4 separate regions of the Homo sapiens genome follow, and all the other regions are linked to region 1. Evidence: promoter capture Hi-C in 16 types of primary human blood cells and fetal thymus (Javierre and others, 2016). All regions are on one chromosome and are shown on one strand. The core of a region is centred on a gene start or on the middle of the fragment in contact, and the rest is flanking DNA. Distances in the headings are between cores, read along the strand shown. Region 1 holds the start of HINT3 (histidine triad nucleotide binding protein 3). Region 2 overlaps ECHDC1 (ethylmalonyl-CoA decarboxylase 1). Region 3 overlaps RNF146 (ring finger protein 146). Region 4 overlaps MTCL3 (MTCL family member 3).

Region 1 (3,320 bases), core at 406-2,905:
CTCCGCAACATCTTCCTCCCAACCCACCATTAAACATTGTGAAGTTTCACTTTGCTCTTCAGATAAAGACAAATTCCTTCACATGACTTCCAACACACTTAATAATCTGGTCCCTTGTTTACCTCTCCAGCCTCGCCTTTCATCCTCTCAAACTCTATGCACTAGTTAGACAATTTCTGTTAGTTTTTCTATCACACAAACTGAACCTCTCGGGGGGTCTCTCAACCTGGGACATTATTCTCTCCATTTCCTCATCTGATCAACTCCTACTTATTTCTTCATGTCTCATTTCCTCTGGAAAGCCTTCCCTAATTCTTCAGAGCTGGGTTAGATGCTCCTCCCACAAGCTTACAAAATACTGTAAAATCACCTGACCACAGCACGAGGCATTGTAACTGGCTACCTCCTCTGTATACATTCCGCCCTTTAGATTGTAAAATCGGGACACAGACTGTCCCTTATCTTGCTCAAAAACCTCCAAAACAAGGTGCTTAGAAGGAATTATATTTATTTTTTAAAAAATAAAGGAATGTTTACTACAAAAGACACAATCTTTGGAGCTAATTCTCTCAAAAAGTTGTTTCTATATGGACAAGTAAAACCAACAGAATAAAGTGTGTGCCAGATTATCCGTTTAAAAATATCTGGGCAAAGTCTTCATGCTCTGAAAATGTCCACGCATCCCAACTGACAGTGGAATTCAGAGGCAATTCAATAATAGTTTGACCTCAGACCCACTCCCTCCAGCCTATTTTCTGCCAATCTAACAAACAGCTTTCCACAATTATCATTACCTATTTTCTACTAGTTTTCTCATCAGTATCGGTATTAGAGTGTGCAGGATTTAAAATCAGTATCTTGAAGGTGGAGAAGAATCCTTGTAATAAAAGCAGAGGCCACAAAATGTTATTTGTACCAACTACCTGGGTACCTGCAAACATAGGCCAAAGCATTCGGCCCTGTCATTCACTCTTTGCCCCTGGGAACAGCAAAGATACCGCTGGAGCCACTGCCTGTCAGTCCCCTAGGAGTGAGTCTGTCATCAGCACCCGGACCCTGCAGAAAGGCCCGTAGTGGGCGTATCCCCAGCTTCCCCGAGCCCCATCCACACAGAGCGGCCCTGCCTCTGCGAGCTGAGTAGCGATCGGGATCCTCTGCACCCGCTCCACAACGGCGAGGCCTCCCTGCCGGAGCTCCGAGGGGCGGCCAGGTCCTCACCCACCCCCGGCCGCGCGTCGCCGCCCACCTCGCAGTGCAGGAGTTCGGTGCCCGGGTCCTGCCGCCCCGCGATCCGGCAGAACACGCAGGTGCTGTCGTAGTCCTTGGGCTCTGGTGACTTGCCAGCGGCTTCACAGGTCCCCACTGAGGAAACCGTAGTTTCTGCAGTCGCCGAGGCCTCACAGTCGGGGGCCAGGCCGGCGCTGCGGTTCACCTGTTCCTCCGCCATTGCACCCGCCCCTCGCGGCCTAGAGCCTCGGCCTCTCCAGGGCTACCGGGCCCGCGCAGTCTCCGCGTCCCGCACCTCCTCCGTTTTACCTCGAGACGTCGCCCCTCGCCTGACGCTGGGCGGTGATCCAGGCTTTGGGGAGAGGGAAGGAGACGCGGTGAGGAACTTCAAAGCCGGAGGCCGGCCTCAAAACCGGCTGCCACTAGAGGGCGCGCAATGGCGCTGCCGAGAGTCGTCCTGACCCCTGCGCCTCGTTGGTAATGACGCACGACGTCTGCCAAGTCGCAGAGCGCCCAGCGCGTCGTGGTGACATCACAGAGGCGCGGGAGCGTTTGACATAATGGAGCTTGTTGGGTGTTCTGGACAGGCGTTCTTCAAAGCCCATAGTATAGCGTGTCCAAATATTGTATTACGCTGCCGTTTTTTTAAAAAAAAAAACAAAAAGTTTTTTAAAGTTTGATTTTTAAAATTCGTAGGTTTTTAAAGAATGAGCAAAATTCCTAAAGCCTTGTTTTCAACAGACATCATGTTTGCTGCTTTTTCAGCCACGATAATTGTAGGAGTTTAAACTCAAAATGTCCAAAACTGACCTTTACATCTCTGTTGACTTTTTATTGTTGTTAACAGCACAGTTAGATCAAACTAGCGACCTTTTTTTTAATCTCACATTCCTCATATACAAGTAGATGTGGAGTCCTATAGTCAATACTCTGAAATATCCCAGAAATTCAATGCCAGTGCCTCATAATGCCTCACCTAGACCAACGCAATCACCTTCTAACTTACTTATTGATTTTCCTGTCACTCAGACAAAACCTTCTGTAACTATGTGCTCAAAGAAAAAGTACCAGTTCCTTAGCTTGGTGTTCAAGGTGGACTCTGATTTGACCTCAGCTTTTCGTTTTGTGATACTTCCCACTTGCTGAGCATCTAAAACATGCCATATATTTCTCTAATTGTCAAAAAACGCAAGGTTGGTTTTATAACCACCGCTCTAGAGATGAAGGACCAAACTCAGAGTTGCCCAGTCCCACACAACTAATTAATAGTGACAGAGTTTAAGATCAAGGTTTGTCTAACTCCAAAACCCACCAACCTTTTTGACATACAGCACTCCTTTTTTAACACCAAAAAATTTGTTGGACTAGCTCACTATAGTAGTTACACCCTTGGTATTTGCTGATTTAGAAAATACATAACAAATTGGGAATTCAGTAATGATTTTTAATGGATTTATGTTGTAATAAAAAGTGGTTGTATGTGTTTTGAATTGTTGTACATATACATTCAAGACATTTTTCATTCCTTTTTGTAGTTGGCCCGTAGTTTGGGGAACCACTACAATAGCTTCACTGCCTTTCAGCACCCCAAAGCAGAGTTCAGAATCAATACATTAGAGTTTTGCCAAATTTTAGTATTCACAATTTCCATGCCTGTACTACACCTTCACATCACTGCTTTTATTCACACAGTTCTCTCTCAAATATTCTTGTTTCCATCTCTTCACTCCAAATTCTACCTTCCAAGCCACCCCTCCAATGCTACCTCCTTCATGAAATTTTCTTTAGCCAAACTGACATAAGCACATCCTCTTGCAAATTCATATAACAGGTTTTCAATATTTCTCTTGTAGGATTTGTCTCTTTGTATCTTATAGCTATTTATGTACTTATTTATCCTGCTAGGAATTATGTTTCTTGGCAACAAGATTGGGTGTGTGAATCTTCCATAATGCCTAGTACAGTTGGAACAGGAATTAAAGAATATGTAAGCAAAAACTCAGTTGTATGTAAGAAAACCCAGTTCCCCCTGAGGAGGAGAAAGAGGTAGAGTCCTTTAAAAATTAACTGCCTGTTTTTCTATCTGTGGCTAG
Region 2 (3,434 bases), core at 457-2,956, 1.3 Mb before region 1:
GTACTATTCTTCATATTGATTTCTCATCTATGTTTAAGTGTAGTTAGGGTTTAGGACAAAAAAGCACAATAGCAGGAAAAATAATCAGAGATTATTTAATCCTTTAATACTGCTAAATTGCCTAGCTGTCATTCTCTAATTGAAGAAAATGTAATGCATCCTAGAGCTTCATTAAATATTTAATTTTATTTGTTACAAGATGTCTGAGGGTACTGCCTACTCTCAGTATCTGGATATACCAGGTGCTTTTGTTGAGAAGCTTCTGATGAAAACCTATCCATTTTTGAACCAGCTTTTCTGAAAGTGGTGTCTGTTTATTAAACATATTTCAGCACCCACATGTGCTAGGCACAGCCATTCACAAACCTTGTGTCTTGGTTTTTTGTTTCATTTTTCTAGTAATATGTTTTTGTTATATTTTACAAAATTATTGGTCTGCAATCGATTAGAAAGTTTCTTTAAAAATGAAGAAGAAATTGATCCTTGACCAGAGAAATTTGACAAGCACTGTCCTAGGCTACTCAGCCCTTTTAAAACCCGCATACCAAAAGCAACTATAGTTCTTAAATGTTAGAGGCTAATAGAGAGGATTGCATACTGAATGAACTACATTACTAGCCCCAGTTTCCAGGAAGTGATAAATCAGTACAAGTTCCTCTAGCTGATTTTTTCCACTTAATTTTATCAGTACCTCATCAGTTACTTTCTATGACAGATTATTTTAATTATTTCCTAAGAATGTCTGCTTGTTCTAAAAAAACACCGAAAGCTTTCATAGCGTTTGCTAAAAAGATAAGTTCCTTCTTTATATGTGTTGGCCCTTTTCGCTTGTTTAACTTTCTTACCTTGGAGAATTGCCTGGAATTCACTCAACTGACATTTTCATCCATGCCAATGGAAGTACTTCAGCAGATGGAGATACACTTAATATGAATATATAAAAGAAATGAACTCATGTAGCATTCTAACACTGTCCCCTTCCCGCAAAACCCTGTGAGCACCAGCTGGTAATAGATGTAATGTATACGTATGTCGGAAACACTCAGTTCTACTTTGCATAGATAGACCCTCACTTGAGTCATACTTTTCATGTAAAATATTCCAAGAGAAAATGGCTTTTAAAAAACATTTTTAAAAGTAAAAGACTAACATGAATTAAAAATTGGTATTTTTCAATGGTCAGAATCTAGTCAAGCATTATGTTTCCATTTTAGTGACAAAATTAATGTGAGGAAATGAAAAGCTAGAAATGTGGTAATATAGCCTCTCATTTTTTAATCCACCTTGACAAATTAAAGATATTTAGAATGAAATATAAATTAAGAAAATGCTAATACATGTAGTTTTCTATTGCTGCTATAACAAACTACCACAAATTCTGTGGCTTAAAACAACACGTTATTATCTCACAGATGTATAGGTCTGAAGTCTAGCTGGGCTCAGCTGGTTTTTCTAAACCTTGTCTCATGAGACCAAAATCTAAGTGTCAGTTGCAGTGGGCTCTGAAGACTCTAGGGGAGGATTCATTCCCAGGCTCACCCAGGTTCCAACTGGTAGAATTTGGTTACATGCACTTGAAGGACTGAAGTCCCTGTTTCCTTGCTGCCAGATGGGGGATGAGTCTTTGCTCCTAGATGCTTTCTGAATTCTTTCTCATGCTTTCCATGTGGCTCCTCCAGCAGTGGTGAGTCAAGTTCCTCTCATACTTTGAATCTCTCTTATTTATCCTTATGCTGCATTTCTCTGACTACAGCTGGAAACATTTCTCTGCTTTTAAGTGTTCTCATGATTAGATTGGGTCCACTCAGTTAATCCAGGATAATTTTCCTATTTTAAGGATTTAACTTTAGTTACATCTGCAGTCTCTTTTGCCATGTATGGTAACACATGCACAGTTGCCAGAGATTAGGTCATCTCTTCGGGGCCAATCTACCTACCACGTATGGGCTTGGCATAGGGAATTTAATTGTCAGATTTGTTGCTAACTTTTATATTTCTGTTTGATTGCCAGTGAAAAGTGCTAACTTTGTTACTCTAAGTTAATTTTGTAAACTGTATTTTTATTTTTTTAAATGCTTGCTTAGATGCTTTTTAGAAAACAGTAATAGTACCCACATACAGTCATGTATTGCTTAATGATAGGAACACATTATGACAAATGTGTCATTACGTGATTTTGTTGTTGTGCAGACATCATAGTATGTAGCTAAACAAACCTAATGATACCATCTAGGGTGCAGCTTACTACATACCTCGGCTATATGGTATAGCTTATTGCTCCTAGGCTACAAACCTGTAAAGCCTGTTACTGTATTGAATACTATAGGCAGTTGTAACACAATGGTAAGTATTTGTGTATCTAAATGAAAAGGTACAGTAAAAATACTGTATAAAAGATAAAAAATTGAATGCTCATATAGGGTATTTATGGTGAATCGAGCTTGCAGGACTGAAAGTCTCTCTGGGTAAGTGAGTGAGTGAGTGGCAAGTGAATGTGAAGGCCTAGGACATTACTGTACACTTAGAATGTACTCCTTTTACTTTTACACATAAAAAATTAAATGTAAACAGCCTCAGGCAGGTCCTTCAGAAGAAATTCCAGAAGACAGTATTAACTGTAACTTTTGTACTATATAAGCTTTTTAATTTTAAAAAACTTTTTTATTCTTTTGTAATAGCACTTCATGTAAAACACAAACACATTTTACAGCTGAACGAAAGTATTTTCTTTTTTTATATCCTTATTCTATAAGCTTTTTCTATTTTTATTTTATTCATCTTTTTTAAAAGTTTTTTTTTTTTTTTATTAAAAGCTAAGACAAACACACACATTAGCCTAGGCCTACATAGAGTCAGGATCATCCATATCATTGTCCTACCCCTCCACATATATCATTGTCCTACCCCTCCACATCTTACCCCACTGGAACATCTTCAGGGGCAGTAACATGCATGGAGCTGTGATCTCCTATGATAATAATGCTGTCTTCTGGAATTCCTCCTGAAGGACCTGCCTGAGGCTATTTTACATTTAATTTTCTACATATAAAAGTAAAATAACACTCTAAAATAACATAAAAAGTATAGGTCAGCTGTGGTGGCTTATGCCTGCAATCCCAGCATTTTGGAAGGCCAAGGCAGGAGGATTGCTTGAGCTCAGGAGTTGGAGACCAGCCTGGGCAACATAGTGAGACACAAAAAATAAAAAAAATAGCCAGGCATGGTGGCACACGCCTGTAGTCCCATTCCTGAGGGAGGATGAGGCAGGAGGATCGCTTGAGGCCAGGAGGTCAAGGCTGCATTGAGCCATTATGGCACCACTGCACTCCAGCCTGCGGGACAGAGTGAGACCCTTTCTCAAAAAAAAAAAAAATATAGTACAGTAAATACCCGAACCATTAACATGGTCATTTATTATTATCAAGTATTATGTA
Region 3 (3,442 bases), core at 863-3,362, 1.3 Mb before region 1:
CATTAGTCTAAATTTCCTTACCTGCAAATCAGAGTTTACAAAGCTCAGGTAAAAATGGACAAAAAAAGTGCTTTGTAATCACTAAAGCTTCATAAAGGTAACAATCATATAAGACCAAAGGAGAAAATAACATGAATATTGAAGATCCCCTGAAGAGGAAGAAGAAAAAAGATTTGTCAAATTGGATGTATCTAGCTTAAACACTGACATAAAATTTATAATTTCTGCCTTATTGATTCAGATAAACATTTACTAAACACCTGCCATGTTCCAGATACAATACTAAGTACTGATGGGTCTAAAGATAAATAAGACACACAACTACTCTGTTAAATAAGGAAACATACATGCAGATAATTACAATATGGCCTGATTCCTGCGTAATCAAAATGTGTTAACATACTTACTAAAATAACAGTAAGAGAGAGATGAGAGGATGGACATAGGTTAGAAAGTTTAGTGTTCATTCAGAGGGGCTGGGCAGTGGAGCAGATTCCAGGCAGAAGCACATGCAAGACACTGAGTCAAATAGTCATACAAGCAATGGAAGAGCAGGAGATGAAGGTGTAAAGGTAATCAAAAGTTAAGTCATGAAAGCCTTATTGTGTTATTGTGCCCTGCCAAGGAAACATCTAATTTTTTTCCCCATGGTAAAAAAAAAAAAAAAAAGACATTTTAAAAGGGGAGAAAATAATGGAGTAAACCACTGATAAGTAAAAAAGACTGAGAAATAAAGATGAAGATGTCAGAGATTGAAAGCTTAAAATGAATGACAATCTCTCTGCCAGCTAATTCTGCCATTCTAAATGGGTCAGTAGTTACAAAAGATATAGTCAACAAGAATGCTTACGCTCATCAAAAATTGAAAAACAATAATCCTAGGCTATCATCACAGCACATTCAATCTTCAAACAATCCTTTTTTTTCTTTTTACTGCCTTTTCTGTGTTCTTGGTTCCTCAATAGACAAGGCTCAAAAAGATGGCAATTTTCTAGTAAAGGAAGCAACACAGTAAGTTTTTAAAAAGATGGCACATATCTAGTAAAGGAACCAACACAGTCTCAATGGAAGAACTGATCACTAAAATGTTTAATTTCCAAATTATTTTCAACTTTTAATAACATTTCCAATCAATTCCTTTACCAGAAATTCTAGGTTATAGACATCAAGAAAGTACAACTTTCTCCTAACCTATGGAAAGTTCTAAGTCAGGGGTGTCTAATCTTTTGGTTTCCCTGGGCCACACTGGAAGAAAAAGAATTGTCTTGGGCCACACATAAAATGCATTAACACTAATGATAGCTGATAAGCTAAAAAAAAAAATCACATAATGTTTTAAGAAAGCTTATGAATTTGTGTTAGGCCGCTTTCAAAGCCATCCTGGGCCACATGTGGCCCACAAGTTGGATAAGCTTGTTCTAAGTAAACCCTAATAGGACGTCTTAGTATGTTAAGCACTATAAAAGCTTTCAAATATTTTGAGATAAACACTTGCCTTCAAAGATCTTGTAACTTGAAACAACAATAAGTTACAAAAGAAGGCATATGTTTTTAAAATAGCCAATTACACATTCCCTGCCTATTTCCTCCCCTAAAAGAATTGGCTGTGCACACATTTTGTTAGGTTTTCAGAAACTTTCATCCCTTTCGATTTAGGTCAAAAAAGTTAGTTTCCATAAAATTCCTGAAAATCTTTTTGTTCCAAGTTCCATATTTATTTAAAGCTCCAATTAAGAAAAAGAAAACAAGAAAGTGATCCATTTACAAGTAATAATTTAAGAAAGATTCTACTCATGATTCTATTCATGAGACTAAATAGAAAAATGGGCTGATGACCACCATTACTTTGGAAAAACAACAGCAACATCTTCATATAAGAAGTCTACATCTTAAACCATCTAAGTACCTTATGAACAAAGGACAGGATCATAAACTGAAAACATAAATAAAAACAGAGTCTGGTAAAATGAAAACAAGACACCCAACATGTCACGTGGACCAATGCCATGCTTTTAAATACATAATTCCAAACCTATTGTATTTGCTTTAAGTAAAATGGGCCCAAGAAGTCAGTTTTCCATCACATACAGCTCGTTTATCTACAGAAAAAAAAGTTTCCAACCTAAAAACATTATCCTCCACCCTACTTAATATGATTAATATTTTGCATGACTCTTACTCTTGCATTTATGAATAAACCAAAACACATAATTTCAAAACTAAGAAAGCAATTACAATCATCCCAGGAGAAGGCATGAATTATAATAACATAATTGGAAAGGCAAAACAATCCTGTTTGTGCAGGTATTTTGGTTCCATCATCAGAATGAAGTGAAGTTGGACAAAGTTAATCTGCAAACAATGGACACCAGACAGCTAAATGGTCATTATTTCATCTGAAGCACTCTTAACTATCAATTTGCCATAGCAATTTATAAATTCTGATTCTGTTTAGCCCATCAAGTATACTGTTAGTCTATCACCAACTAACAAATGGGCAGAAAAACTTAGTGATATTTCTTATTTAATTCTGAATGAGGCACATGCAATAAGTAAGATAGAGATAAAATGTGTAACAAGATAGACACAAAGTAACCCCAAACTGCTAGTCTACCTATAAGACATACTTCAAGGCTTTTTAAAAAACCATTTTAATCTACCCTACACAGTCTCTGTTTTGCAGTTCCAATGATCTTAAAATAGGTGGGAGACTAAATGTATGCAGATGATCATACCAATATGTAAATAAGAAAGCTTTTCCCCTCCCTTTGTGTAGAGCAAGTATTAATGCTAATCAAAAGAGGTATTCCCTATCTCATAAATGTCTCAGAAAATTCTAATTTTGAAAAAGGGAATTTATTTCCAGTTTACTAAACTAAGAATTTAATACACAGAAATTTGGAGTGACGTTAGTCCAATTCTATTAATAAGTATAATACATCATTTACTTTCAAAGACGTTTTTACTGAATTCTTCATGTGATATTCCAACTTTTAAGTATAAATCCCCTTCTTCCAATAGATAAACCATGTGAAATATTTCTGCCAGACTAATAAGAGTCTATTAATACTAAGTCTTCTTCTCAAGAAGACAAAATATAGAGGGGTATGGGCAGAGTTAGTGGAAATCTCCAAGAACTCAGATTTCCTTGAAACTTCTTGGACAACTAGTCAAATGAAAGGCAAAATTATTATAAGCAAAAAAGATCTTTAGTATGTGTAGTATTCAAGAAATTTTTAGCTTGCAATAAAAACTCCAAATATTAAAAATCAGATTTTTAAAGTCTGAATTTAGAATCCAATTACAGACACACAAAAAGGGAACAATCCTACATATAATTTCAAGGGGCTTAAGGATTTCTATGAAGCTGGTCCACATATGAACCACTAATGAGACAAGAGGAGTTCACTGAAAGGTTTTACGTCAGGAAATAACAGCCAGT
Region 4 (3,315 bases), core at 618-3,117, 1.6 Mb before region 1:
CCATTGTTTGGAGAAATCGAGTGGGTGTGGAACTGCGGCGAGCGAGCCCAAAGTCATGCTCAGCCGGAAAGTCGCATACAATAATATGAAGTTGAACTTTCCTCGGCGCAGAAAGGCACAATAATAAACCCTGAGATCCCCGGAATATCAGAAGGAAAGTGCTGTTGATTTGTTCAGCTACTTGGAAACCTCGCCTCTGCTGAGAAGTGAGCAAGTTCTGGATTTCTAAAGGGTTGGGGATGAATGATGGGGTGGGTTAGCAGGCGGATAAAACTTGAGATTAAAAGTGTTGGTCTAAGCCGTGCAGGGGTTGGTTGGGTGATAATTTTCACCGGGAAAGCCTTGAAGAGATGCAGCATCTTGTCACTTTGTGGGAACCACGTGACAGCAGCCGGATACCTTTGATTGTGGAGCCCAGTTACTGGAACACAAGCTTTCGCCTGGGTTAATGCTGTCTGAGGGCTGAGTTTAAACATTGGCTTCTCAGCTCTGGAATTATTCTGCCTGATTAAAAACAAAAATAAGTTTGCATTGGCAATATAAGTTAGTTAGATAGCCCATGTTAGTGCCACCCATGATGATAAACTAGGCCAGACATTCTAGTAGTATCGCGACTGGGAGAGAAGATGTAGAAAACAAGTTGGTGGGCAATTTTCCCCCGATGTCTTCTTTGTTCACCTTTATATTTCAAAGTGAGTTGGAAGGAGATGCCAGAAACAGAAAGGGAGGTGGATTAGGAACCCTTCGGTAATATTTCTTTATAAAATGAGGAATTACTGCATGCTAAGTTGTGATGCTAACAATAGATGTTAACAAGAATAATGCAAGTAAAATAACTGGCAGTAAAGTAATCTGCTCTCTGTATAGAACAAATATTTTTAAAGGAGAAATTTATGCCTAGTCATGCCCCTTTCAGTGCTTTAGACAGAAATAATTTTAAGGAAAAGGCAACTAATTGACTAGCTGCCTGGATCCCTAGGGAGAGGAACCCATGAGGCAGTAACTTGCTATTTTTCAGATTAAAGAAGCTAGTGACGGATTTATCTTGGAAATACACATACTGGAAATTGATCTTACCACCATGAGGGAAGATGCACCAGCCTTCTGGGTTCTGTCTCAGAATTGCTATATAGGAGGAAATGGGCACTTTAAAAAGTACAACTTTTGCCTATGATATGCGATGTAAGAAGATGGCTAAGAATGAAAATATTTTCTATCTAGCAATTACACTTAAAACTAAAGTGATTCATAAGACTACAAAACTGGGTAAGCATAGGAAAATTCATCACCAGAAACTTAGGAAACTGCAGAACTGACCACAACTTTTCCAAATGTATTTTAAAAATTATTTCCCAAAAGGGAAAAAATACGTTTTTGGGTTGCTAATAACTAACCCATATAGACAATTCTTAATGCTATTATTTTCTTGAAACTGAGATTGATTTAAAGGCATTCATTATTTATATTTTCTTTTAGTTCTATTATAAAGGAAGTTGGGTGCATTTTCCCAAAAACAACATTAAGGGTTGGAGCTGCCTGGGGAAAGTGTCATTTATCCGTAGAAAATATTCTCTAGGAACCCTACATCATAACCCTTTTCCTCTAATTGAACTTGGGAATACTAATTAAATGAAAACTTTCTCCAGTAAACTAGGCTTTACATATGGATTTGATGGTAAGGAAAGCCAAAGTTGTAAAAGCAGAGTTGACAACTCTAATATATGGATATCTTTTCTTTCTGAAGCTTCTTTTCCACTTTATCCTCTTTTCTTTTATATCTCCCTTTCCATCAATTCCTGTCTGACTCTGTATCTCACCCTTTCCAAAGCCTGCTACCATGAGAATGTAAGGTTCAGCTGCTTTCAGATCCGTCATTTTGCTGAGGTGGAGTGAGATGGAGACAGCGCCACCCTGGGCAAAATGAGAATTGACAGCCCTCCATCCTATTCCTAAAGACAGCCCTGCATCCTATTCCTAAAGTCAAAGCTTCTATTAAGCGCCATCCAAATGGAGCAATATCACCCTTTGCTCTGCAAAAATTCAGACATGTTGTCTTCTTCTCTCCTTTTGTTTCTGTCCCAGCTTAGGAAGGAAGGTTGGCGGCGGTGAAGAGGGAAGAGGATGATCTAGTAATGGGCTCTTCCAAATCGCATCTGGTAGGTTCATAGCCATGAGTCAGCCACCAATCGGGGGCGCTGCCCCTGCCACAGCAGCAGCTTCTCCCGCCGCTGCAGCCACTGAGGCTCGTCTGCACCCGGAGGGCAGCAGCAGAAAGCAGCAGCGAGCTCAGTCACCCGCTAGACCGAGGGACAGTTCGCTGCGACAGACAATCGCGGCCACCCGGTCCCCAGTGGGGGCCGGCACTAAACTCAATTCTGTTCGGCAGCAGCAGCTGCAGCAGCAGCAACAGCAGGGTAACAAGACCGGGAGCCGCACGGGGCCGCCCGCCAGCATCCGAGGAGGCGGAGGTGGGGCCGAGAAGGCGACGCCCCTGGCGCCCAAAGGGGCCGCTCCGGGAGCTGTCCAGCCTGTGGCTGGTGCTGAAGCGGCCCCCGCCGCGACCCTGGCCGCTTTGGGCGGCAGGAGGCCCGGACCGCCCGAGGAGCCGCCTCGGGAGCTAGAGTCCGTGCCCTCGAAACTCGGGGAACCCCCTCCGCTCGGAGAAGGGGGAGGAGGGGGCGGGGAAGGAGGAGGAGCCGGCGGCGGCTCCGGGGAAAGGGAGGGGGGCGCTCCGCAGCCGCCGCCGCCCAGGGGCTGGCGAGGGAAAGGCGTACGCGCTCAGCAGAGGGGCGGCAGCGGCGGGGAGGGGGCCTCCCCTTCTCCATCCTCCTCTTCTGCGGGCAAAACCCCAGGAACCGGCAGCAGAAACTCCGGAAGCGGCGTTGCGGGGGGCGGCAGCGGTGGTGGAGGGAGCTACTGGAAAGAAGGATGTCTGCAGTCTGAGCTCATCCAGTTCCATCTCAAGAAGGAGCGGGCGGCAGCGGCGGCGGCCGCGGCTCAGATGCACGCTAAGAACGGCGGCGGCAGCAGTAGCCGCAGCTCCCCGGTGTCTGGCCCCCCTGCCGTTTGCGAGACCCTGGCCGTCGCCTCCGCCTCCCCAATGGCGGCGGCGGCGGAGGGCCCCCAGCAGAGCGCAGAGGGCAGCGCGAGCGGCGGGGGCATGCAGGCGGCAGCGCCCCCTTCGTCGCAGCCGCACCCGCAGCAGCTCCAAGAGCAGGAAGAAATGCAAGAGGAGATGGAGAAGCTGCGAGAGGAAAACGAGACTCTCAAGGTGAGGAGGGTGGGGGGACCCGGCTGGGGGATGGGAAGAGTGGG

Evidence for each region. Contacts are between HindIII fragments. The CHiCAGO score rates a contact against its expected background, and 5 or more counts as called.
Region 2: a fragment that was not itself captured here is called in contact with the fragment with the promoter of HINT3 in region 1 in 1 of 17 cell types (total B cells); the score reaches 9.3 in total B cells.
Region 3: a contact is called between a fragment that was not itself captured here and the fragment with the promoter of HINT3 in region 1, in 3 of 17 cell types (naive CD8 T cells, naive B cells and erythroblasts). The highest score is 7.2, in naive CD8 T cells.
Region 4: a contact is called between a fragment that was not itself captured here and the fragment with the promoter of HINT3 in region 1, in 7 of 17 cell types (total CD8 T cells, non-activated CD4 T cells, naive CD8 T cells and 4 more). The highest score is 9.7, in total CD8 T cells.

What each region holds. Positions count from the first base shown.
Region 1 is chr6:125,955,105-125,958,424 of GRCh38, reverse strand. HINT3 (histidine triad nucleotide binding protein 3) reads right to left here and starts at 1,655. Exons shown (of 5, transcript NM_138571.5): 1 at 1,247-1,655. The coding sequence starts at 1,447. RefSeq lists enhancers at 433-482, 1,543-1,642 and a silencer at 1,153-1,372. The HindIII fragment of the contact is 9,214 bases long and covers 350-3,320 here.
Region 2 is chr6:127,298,819-127,302,252 of GRCh38, reverse strand. The region is part of intron 5 of ECHDC1 (ethylmalonyl-CoA decarboxylase 1); the gene reads left to right. Among named protein-coding and RNA genes, the nearest start is that of RNF146, 34 kb to the right of the region's middle. The HindIII fragment of the contact is 1,869 bases long and covers 772-2,640 here.
Region 3 is chr6:127,282,757-127,286,198 of GRCh38, reverse strand. All of the region lies in intron 2 of RNF146 (ring finger protein 146), which reads right to left. Among named protein-coding and RNA genes, the nearest start is that of RNF146, 18 kb to the right of the region's middle. The HindIII fragment of the contact is 1,288 bases long and covers 1,469-2,756 here.
Region 4 is chr6:127,515,470-127,518,784 of GRCh38, reverse strand. It overlaps MTCL3 (MTCL family member 3), which reads left to right. Exons shown (of 7, transcript NM_001400265.1): 1 at 1-206; 2 at 2,083-3,271. The coding sequence starts at 2,171. SOGA3-KIAA0408 (SOGA3-KIAA0408 readthrough) reads left to right here. Exons shown (of 13, transcript NR_174482.1): 1 at 1-206; 2 at 2,083-3,271. Among named protein-coding and RNA genes, the nearest start is that of MTCL3, 2.2 kb to the left of the region's middle. RefSeq lists a silencer at 2,537-2,766. The HindIII fragment of the contact is 242 bases long and covers 1,747-1,988 here.